2 separate regions of the Homo sapiens genome follow, and region 1 is linked to region 2. Evidence: promoter capture Hi-C in 16 types of primary human blood cells and fetal thymus (Javierre and others, 2016). All regions are on one chromosome and are shown on one strand. Each heading gives the region's core, a stretch centred on a gene start or on the middle of the fragment in contact. The rest is flanking DNA. Distances are from core to core; before and after follow the strand shown.

What was found. The method cuts DNA at HindIII sites, captures the fragments that hold promoters and counts their contacts. A CHiCAGO score of 5 or more calls a contact.
Region 1: the fragment with the promoter of ZBTB16 here is called in contact with the fragment with the promoter of TTC12 in region 2 in 2 of 17 cell types (total B cells and naive B cells); the score reaches 9.1 in total B cells.

The regions. Positions count from the first base shown.
Region 1 is chr11:114,056,380-114,061,022 of GRCh38, forward strand. ZBTB16 (zinc finger and BTB domain containing 16) reads left to right here and starts at 3,332. Exons shown (of 7, transcript NM_006006.6): 1 at 3,332-3,503. RefSeq lists a silencer at 2,888-3,182. The HindIII fragment of the contact is 2,602 bases long and covers 2,359-4,643 here.
Region 2 is chr11:113,311,610-113,315,887 of GRCh38, forward strand. It overlaps TTC12 (tetratricopeptide repeat domain 12), which reads left to right and starts at 2,974. Exons shown (of 22, transcript NM_017868.4): 1 at 2,974-3,009. TTC12-DT (TTC12 divergent transcript) reads right to left here and starts at 2,847. Exons shown (of 5, transcript NR_199709.1): 1 at 2,721-2,847. RefSeq lists silencers at 2,785-3,034, 3,058-3,352, 3,245-3,344. The HindIII fragment of the contact is 13,389 bases long and covers 1-4,240 here.

The sequences.
Region 1 (4,643 bases), core at 2,082-4,581, 750 kb after region 2:
TTGTAATTCAAAGCCCCCTCCCCAATTTCTGCCTGAGATTCTGAGGGAGGAGGAAAAGTGTAAGATCCTGGGGGATCTAAGTCTCTTTACCTGGTGACCAAGCTGAGAACCATTTGGTCCTCAGCTTGGCTGGCTGCTGCACAGATCTTGGCCTCAGCAGAGTAAGAGAAGAAGGAAAATTAAAAGCCCTTGCTTCCTTCATCTATTTCACTAGAGGCTACATAATCTAGAAGTTAAGAGCATGAGCTTTGCAGTCAGAATGGTCTGATTTAAAGTTTCAGCTCTGATGTTTAATAGATCTACAGTCTGCAGTAAGGCACTTAATCTCTCTGAACCTCAGTTTTCATGTCCACAGAAATTGGGAAAATAATAGCACCTGCATTAATAGGATTGTTATGTGGATTAAATAAAACAACATAGGTAATGTGTTGAGTTTCGTAGTCAGTGCTCAGAATGAGTTATTATTTTCGCTGTCTCCTTCCTGTATGATCTCTTAGAACTGCTATACCCTCCTGTTCCACTAACTGAGCTCTGAAAGGCTGCCAGTGGTGGGAGGTACATGGGTAAAGAGGGAGATGAGGGAGTAAGATTTAGCAATGGAATTCCATGCAAAGGCCAGCTCATCTATTCCTCTGTCTCTAGCATGATCTCCCCCTAAGATTGAGATCTCCTGTATTTTTAGAACTGATACCCAGGTTTCCCTTAAAAGACGCTTCAAGAAAAAATGTAAAAGAAAAATCACTCTAAATACACGAACATGAGAGAGACAGAAAGAGAGCGGGCATGTGCGCGCGAGAGAGATTGAGTATTCTCTTGTAATTTTCCATCCTGCTTGTTTTTAGGTGCTGCCATATGAAATCTCTGAACTGAGGATTCTCATCAGCCTTCCCAGGACCCAAGGACATAGCTCTGGCTATAAATGGTGCCAGTTTTGGTGGGGGAGCTGCTGCTGCTTTATCTGGGCCCAATAAACCTTATCAAACTGCTGTGCAGCCAGCCTTCAGCGCTAAGTGGAAATGCTTGGAGCCCAATGCTGGCATTCAGCCCACAGCCTCGCCTGCCTTCTTCCTTTTTGTTACCTTCTCCACCTCTTAAATTCAGGCATTAATCTCTCTTTAACACTTACTAACAAGGGCTGGGCTTTTAATGGGCAGCGTTTATGAAGCAAGGGAGATTTTCACATAGAGTGAATATGGCACGGGGGTGGGGAGGCCAGGGCCATAGAGGATTGTGCTTTCTCTCCCATTGTTTCCAGAGATTCTCTCTTTCTCTGATTTGAGGATTAATAGGAGATTAGGATCAGGGGTTAATTGTGTGCTTCTCCTGCTACTGCACTGAGGAGAGGCTGGTAGGTGGATGTGGACAGCAAAGCGGAAACCTCCAGCAGGCACTATCTAGGCAGAAGCTCAACAAGTGTAGTGATTCTTTCTTCTGTTTCCCTGGTGAGGCACCAGGAGGGTCTTTTCTCCTCTCCTTACATCCCTCCACTCTTGCTCTCCTTGCAGCCCAGTTCTTTCCTAACTTTCTTTAAATCCCTTTCCTCTAACAGGGTGTATAGACCTTAGTTAGAAAAACAGGTAGTCTCTAAATGGGATTGCTCTTTATTGTTAATGAAATGAATACCCAGGGACTGGGCTTCCCCTCCGCTTGCCCTGGGTTTGATGTGGTTGTATCCCGTGCTATCAGAGGAGCCCTTCCTTCACTCAAGTGTGTTCCCCTGCCCAGCTCTCTCCGCAGACTCCTGCTGGGCTGAGCTTTCCCTGCTCTTAAGAGTCAGGAGTGGCTCTTGCTGGGATGGAATGACCCGTCTTTGGGGCTGCCTCATGAGCGGCTCTTGTGAACCCGGATCAGTTCCGATGTGTAAACTCTACCGCCTGGCCTTCAGCGAACAGATACAGATTTCTGCCACCTTCCATGACCCTACAGTTCATGGGACTGGGTCTGGGGCAGTGCCAGAGGCACGCATGGAGGTGTGATTCTAGGTGAGTCCTGCGGAAAACCTCTGGCCCACCCGTGAGTCACGGACAGAACATGCAGACTCAGGCCTTGGTGACATAAGCTCCGCATTGCTAAAACCGCGTGACCTCGAGGGCTGACTGGCCTGAGAACCCTGGATGGCGCTCTCGGCCACCCCCACCTCCCACCCCAACCTCCTGGGCTTCGGTCAGAATCCACAGCCCGTGCCCGAAGAGCGCTTCCCGCCTCTGGCACCCTACCTTCGCTCAGCTCCAGGGAAAAGGGGAGAGGGCAGCTTTCTGCAGTCAGAGGAAGAGTACATTTTCTTTGGCTGCTCTACCCTCTGAAGTAGGGCGGCCAGCTGAAGGAGGACACACTTTTGAGGGGCCCAGAGGTTGTCCAAGCTTCCCCCTGCCCCCTGAAGACTGTGCACTGAGCTGGGCGCAGTTCTCGGGAACTGTTTCCACCCAGATTGCTGGGGGGCGGGGGGGTAGGATGAGGGCAGAGCCGAGAGGCTGTCCAAGGTTTGGGAGAGAGAAAAGTTTCTCCCAGGACTCGACCTTGGCCTCCAGCAATCGCGACAGCTAAAAACGGGTGTCTCGCTTCGACAATAGATCCCCGCGGACCTTCTGGCACCTGGTTCACTAGCGCCCGCGAACTCTGCCTCGGGAGACTTATTGAAATCCGGATGCTCAAGCCGGGAGGCGCGCAGTAACCAGGAGGATGAGAGGGCCGGGTTTGGGCTAGGAAAGCGGCCTTTTAAAACAGATGTCAGGGGGACTGCAGCCCCGAGCCATGAGAAAAAAGTTAAAGGCGAGATGACACGCACTGAATTGGGGCAAACATTGGAAGAGGAGACAAAACTGCGTGCTTGAGCACCGGGGTGCGGGGAGGGGGGGACAAAACCCGTATCCAGTGCAAATTAAAATCTTGGGAGTAGGTGGGGGCTGCTGCGCGCCCTTCACCCTCAGTTCCCCTATTAAGGATTCTGAGTCCCCATGCACTCCTGTCCTCTGGCTCCTTCCTTCCTCTCCGCTCGGCCGGTGAGAGGCGGCCGCCGGCGCCCCAGCAGCAGCTAGATGTCAGGCGAAGCCCGGAGCGCGGAGCGCGGGGAAGGGAGGGGAAGGGAGGGGAGGGGAAAGGAGGGGTGGGGCGGGGAGCGCGCGCGGGCTCGGCCAGTGCGGGGTGGTGGGCGGGCTGAGCCCGGGGACGGCGCGGGAGGGGGGAGGGAAGGGGGGCAGCTGTGGGCAGGGAGCCGGGCTCGGCCGCCAGCACTAAAGATGGAGAGGCGCCGGGGCCTTGCAGGGGAGGGGGCTCGGCGTTGACGTGGGACGCGGCGGAGGCGCAGCAGCCGGTGGTGATTTGCTAACCTCGCAGCAGAGAGGAGTTGAGGGCGATGAGAGCGGGTACTGCGAACTGCCGGGCGATGCTGTCGCTGCCGCCGTGATACGGAGAGCAACAGTTCCCCAGCAACACCCCTCCCCGACACAGGCACACACCCCCCGACAGGCACGCACACCCACCCCACAGTGCCCGGCTCGGCTGCGGTGAGTGAGGGGCCGGGAAGAGGCGCACCGCCCAGCGAGCGCCGCGCGCCGGGGCTTCCCGGGGCTGGAGAGGTCTGGGGGGCGCGCGCTCGCTTCGGCCACTCGGCCGCTGGGCTTGTGCCTTTTTTATTTGGCGTGTTCCCTTCCTGCCGCTGCAGCCGTCGCCGCCACCGGTTGGGGGTCGGCTAGAAGGGGGAGCCCCGGCTGTCAGCCTGGGCGCAGCTGCCTCCCCAGCCCTTCCTCTTCAGGGCACGGTCGGGGTGAGAGGTGGGGGGCGTAGCGGTGTGCGGGGGCTGAGGGCGTGAGCAGAGGGGTCGGGGATCCGGAGGCTTTGTACCGCCAGGGGCTGGCGGAGCAACAGAGCCCGTGGGTGCTCTTATGTATGCGGACCGGTGCGCGGGCGCAAGATAAGGTTGTGGTTTATTTATTTGTGTGTTTATTCGCCGGCCGGCTGGGAAGCTAGAATCGGAGGAGCTGACGAGTAGATCTGGGGGCGGAGGGGAGCAGGACTGGGACTGCTTACGTTTTGTTTCTCTTTGAGAAAACGTGGTGGGCTTTTTCTTGATTGGACTTGATCCCCACCCCCCTTTTGCAGGGGAGGGAGGGAAGCTCCAGAGGGTCTGCAGCGCTGCGGGCCCTCCTCGGCTCTCGGCGGGACCGGCGGTGACACCGGAGCTCGCCGTGCGCTCCCGGCCGCTCTCGGTGGGTGCCGGTCTCTGCACCTGATGCGTTCGGGATGCCTTTCCCACCCTGGCGCGCCCGCCGCTAGCTCGCACAGCGCCTCGCACACTCCCGCACGCGCTTGAAATGCGCACGGTCCCGCCGGCCCGCGGAACCACCCGGACGCACGGAGCGCTCCGCACCGACTCGCTCGCCGCCTCCCCGAGACGCTCGCACCGTGCTTGGGCCGGGCGCGCTGGCCGCTGGCGCCGCTGGCCAGAGGCCTGGGACCCAGCCGGTCGCTCCCAGGGGGTCACGGCCCTGGGTCGGAGAGGGAGGGCGGGCAGACCCCTTCTCGCCTTTCCTCCCACAACTCGCTGCGGGGCTTTTGTGCTTCCCCTTCGCCGCGGGGCGGGTCCGCCTCCCCTGCCGCTCTCGCCGCGGAGTCCAGCCCGCCCGGACTGTCGCCGTTCCTCCCCG
Region 2 (4,278 bases), core at 1,724-4,223:
GGGATAAGGGGGATGAAAGTATCAGGATTTGGGAACTGCATTCTTTGGTGAGTCAACTTCTGGTCAGCTACAGTAGGAGACCTGGGGGGGCAGCAGGACAGGGTCATAGTGGGGCCCTCAGACCAGCTGGTGTCAATGGGTCCTTCAGAACAGCTGACATTAGTAATTTCACTGGTATGCAGGACCTGAAAGAATACTCCAAGTGGAAAACACAATGTTTTATGTTCAAGTTGTTAACTATAGAGCAGTTAAGGGGAACTATAATATTGTAACTGGGTCTACGTGATTCTGAGATAACAGACACTAAATAATTATGAAGAAGCAGGCCAGAGAACAAGCTGACCTCATGGTTCATGCTGAATGTGCTGCAAGCTGGGCTTATTTTATTTCTCCCCTTCCCTGCTTCCCTGATTAATTTTATAAAGTTTGTAAGGAAGGTTTCAGTAGTGTTAGTAATAAAAAAGGAGGAATATGATCCCCAGTACATAGCACAATAGAAGGTGCATAGTAGGTGCTTCAAGACATTTTAATGAATGCTAATAGGTGGAGATGTGAGATTTGAACCCAGCAAAATGGCTCCAGAGCCCCAGCTCTTAACCACTTAGCATGTGATGACTATTTGTCAAGTGCACCCCAGGGGCCTTCCGCTGCATCTAGCACACTACAGGCCACTCACACTAGCTGAACAAATGTGTGAGTGAATGGTTAGGTGGTACAGTCAGTTGTGGGCAGATACCTCTGGAACCTAGGAAAGGAGTTTAGTGAAAAGAGTAGTAGGATAGGAAGTAAGTGATTTGGAACTATTGGCCTCAATGTGATAAGAAACACCCTGAGGTTGGGGACCATAGGCATATAGCCTTCATGTATTCAAGGCCTCACAGGCCTAAGAGGAAAATGGGGTGATACTAATGGTGATAACCAAAACATCACTGGTTCTTGTCTCCATCAATTCCCACAGGCTGGAAGGTCACTGTGAAGTACCCTATATCTTTCTGAGGATCCCTATGGTGTGCCTAGCCTGTGCTCATCAACGTCCTTGCTCCTGCCAGGCACCTACACTGTCTGCTACTTCTCCTGAGGCACCTCATTCCCTTGGGACAGCCACTGTGACCATGTCCTGCTGGGATCCCCAGGTCTCCTGCTGCAGTTGATGAGCCAAAAGACTCACTCTGCTGATGCTGTACCCATTCAGCTGCCAAGAGGAGCAGAACATCCGTGGCCCCTTTGTGTTATACTGCATTAGAGGGGTACCCAAGCAGGATGGTATGTGTACCAATGCATCATAGAGACTTCAGCCAAACAGCTCTTCTGTTCTCTACAGGACACAGGCATGCATCCTATGGGGCCTAGGCCACAAGAGAGTCAACAGGCTGTACTTGGAATCAACACTAGAGCTAGCTGGCCATGCCTGGATCCCTCTCCCCTCTGGCGAATTCCATCTCTAGGGGCTCCTTGTTCCCTGCCAAACAGGTTTCCATAAAGCACTCATTTGCCAAGAAGTTCCGGGTGTTTCTGACCGTGAACTTAAGCTCAAGTTTCCCCTAAACCTGCTTTTTTTCCATTGGTAACCCTGCACATAATACTCTGAGATTTTGTTTAGAAAAACAGACTGAAATTTCTTTAGGGCTGTGTGCATGTATTTGGGGCATGAATGAATGTGCCTATTAGCTCATTCTGTTCTAAACCCTATGATTCCCCGGATGTCACGTGCCACCTGTTCCTACTGACTAGGTACCAGGCACTGAAACCACCATTGCAAAATTATAACTGAGATGGTGAAAGGGATCTGACCTAACCGACTCCATCTTGCTTCTCATCTCCAAGCTGTCTTTGTTCATTCCTAGGCATAGGCCAAACTAACTTTGGGGGGAACTTAGTTTATAGTGTAGCTTTGAAACAAAGACAATACCAGCCCTTTCCCAAACAAACCCCCTTCTTGCCCAGGAACTAGACTGCCTTTTCAGGACTAACAAATTAGCCACAAAATTAGAAATTATGGTTTAGGAGTCATGCAGCTAGAGGCTGCAAGATTCTAAACCTCAAATTGCTCCTGGGGATAACATCAACTATTGTAAAACCTAAGATCAGTGCTTAAGATATTTCACAGACACTGCACTCGATGGATCAGCTGGCACCACCCAGATGAATAAACTGGCTCATCTGGTCTTATGACCCCCACCTGGCAACTGACTCAGCACAAGAGGACAGCTTTGACTCCCTGTGAGTTCATCTCCTAGCCTACCAATCAGCACTCCCGACTCACTGACCCCTACCCACCAAATTATCCTTAAAAACTCTGATCCCTGAAAGCTAGGGAGACTGATTTGAGTAATAATAAAACTCCGGTCTCCCTCACAGCCAGCTTTGTGTGAATTACTCTTTCTCTATTGCAATTCCCCTGTCTTGATAAATCGACTCTGTTTAGGCAGTGAGCAAGGTGAACCTATTGGGCGGTTACAGCACTTTAACCATAAACCTTATGAGAAAGTGCCATTTCTCCATTTCACAGGTGAGAAAACTGAGGATTAAAAAGGTTACTCAAATAACTTTCCTAAGGATAAATGTGTGAGTCTTCTAACTCACACATTTATCAATGAACAAAACCGGATTCACAAGTACACTGGAGACTTTACATTTTGGGCAAGGATATTAAGCTAACGGGAGTGAGACAACCCTTCTTCAGTAGAAAAAAGGCGAGCAGCAGGCGCTGCTTTAGTTACCAGCACTTTGCTTCCTCCGTCTCCCCGCGCCAGGCATCGGGCATCCCAACCTCGACTTTGGCCTTCAACTTGGCGCGCTCCGGAGCTAGAGCTCTGCGGTAGCGAATCTGATCGCGTGTCCATGCCCGCCCCCTGTCCCGCCTCCTGGCTTTTGACCCCGTCCTTGGTCCCGCCCCGGGCCCTGGCTCCTGGCCCCGCCCTTGGTCCCGCCCCGGGCCCCTGGCTCCTGGCCCCGCCCCAGCCCAGGCAGGTCACTGCGCCATTTCCTGTCCAAAGCTGGGCGAATCAGGTCGGTGCCGCGGGGTACCCCGGAATCCCCCCTGGGAGCTGGTCCTGCACTGGCCTTCAGAGCCGAGCAGAGGACGCTGCTTTGGGCCCCAGAGCATGGGAAGGTCTTGGCTGCGGTCTGGGACGGCTGCGGTCTGGGACCTGCATGGAGGGCCCGGGACTTGCGGACGCCTGGGAGCGGTTGCTGGGCAACAGTGCGTGCGGCCTGGCCTCTTTGCGCCCGGCGGGCAGCGCGCGTCTGGGGCAGGCTCCGCGCGGGGCTCGGGCACAGGTCCCCGCTGCCGCAGCCCTACCGAGTGAAGCACTGAGCGCGGCGCCGCTTCGCCATCACCTGGCTCTGGCCCTCTCACCCTAGCGTAGGGGGGCACTGGCCAGGCAGTGAGGACCCTGAGATCCATGCCCTGGGAGACAGAGGTTGTCTCCTGTCCATGCACCCGCGCGCCTGCCTTCTAACCTTCATACCGTTGGGCAGATTAATTCACTGGACTAGGCCTCTGTTCCGTGGGAGTTGAAAAGATTTGACCTGGAAGAAACCCTAGCGATTATTCAGTTAAGCCGCAACCCCACCCCCTGTTTTATATAGGTAAGGGTGCTTCACGGTGAGGACTCGTCGCGTGCCTGGTGCTTTACATCAGTCCCCAGAATAGTCCTCGTAGTTTCTCTCTTACTGTTCCCATAGTATGGGTGAGGACTCTGAGGCTCGGAGAGGTTGTGAATTTAGCCAGAATCACACAGCTTGTAACTGGTGGAGATGAGGACACTGAGACTCGATTAAATCACTCGTAGTTTGTTCGTGGCAGATTACGTGTTAGAAGCGTGTTACACTACTATGAAACCTGGCCATAAATGAGAATCACCTGGAAAGTGTTTAAAATCTATATTCGTGTCTGGGCAATGTCCCGGGTTTACTGACTTGAAATCTCGGGCTACGGCTGAGGAAGCTGTATATTTAACAATCTTCCCGATGATTTTTATGATCTGTGGATGAACCACTGAGTACTGCTGGGTACACCACGGGGCCTTCTCGCACAAAAACAACTGTAAAATAATATCTGAGGTACCTAGAGCAGAAGAGACGCTGGTGAGCATGGTAACATTATGTTCTAATCCCTTCAGTCAATTTGTACCCTTTCTTCACTCTTCAGAAACAAGCCAAAGGCAGATTTTAAACAAGTATGGACATTTAGATGCAAATTGCCCCAAGTTTGTTACCTGTCACACATCCACATTTAAGCTTCTGACTAGACCAGCCTGTCATGATCAAAGTCAG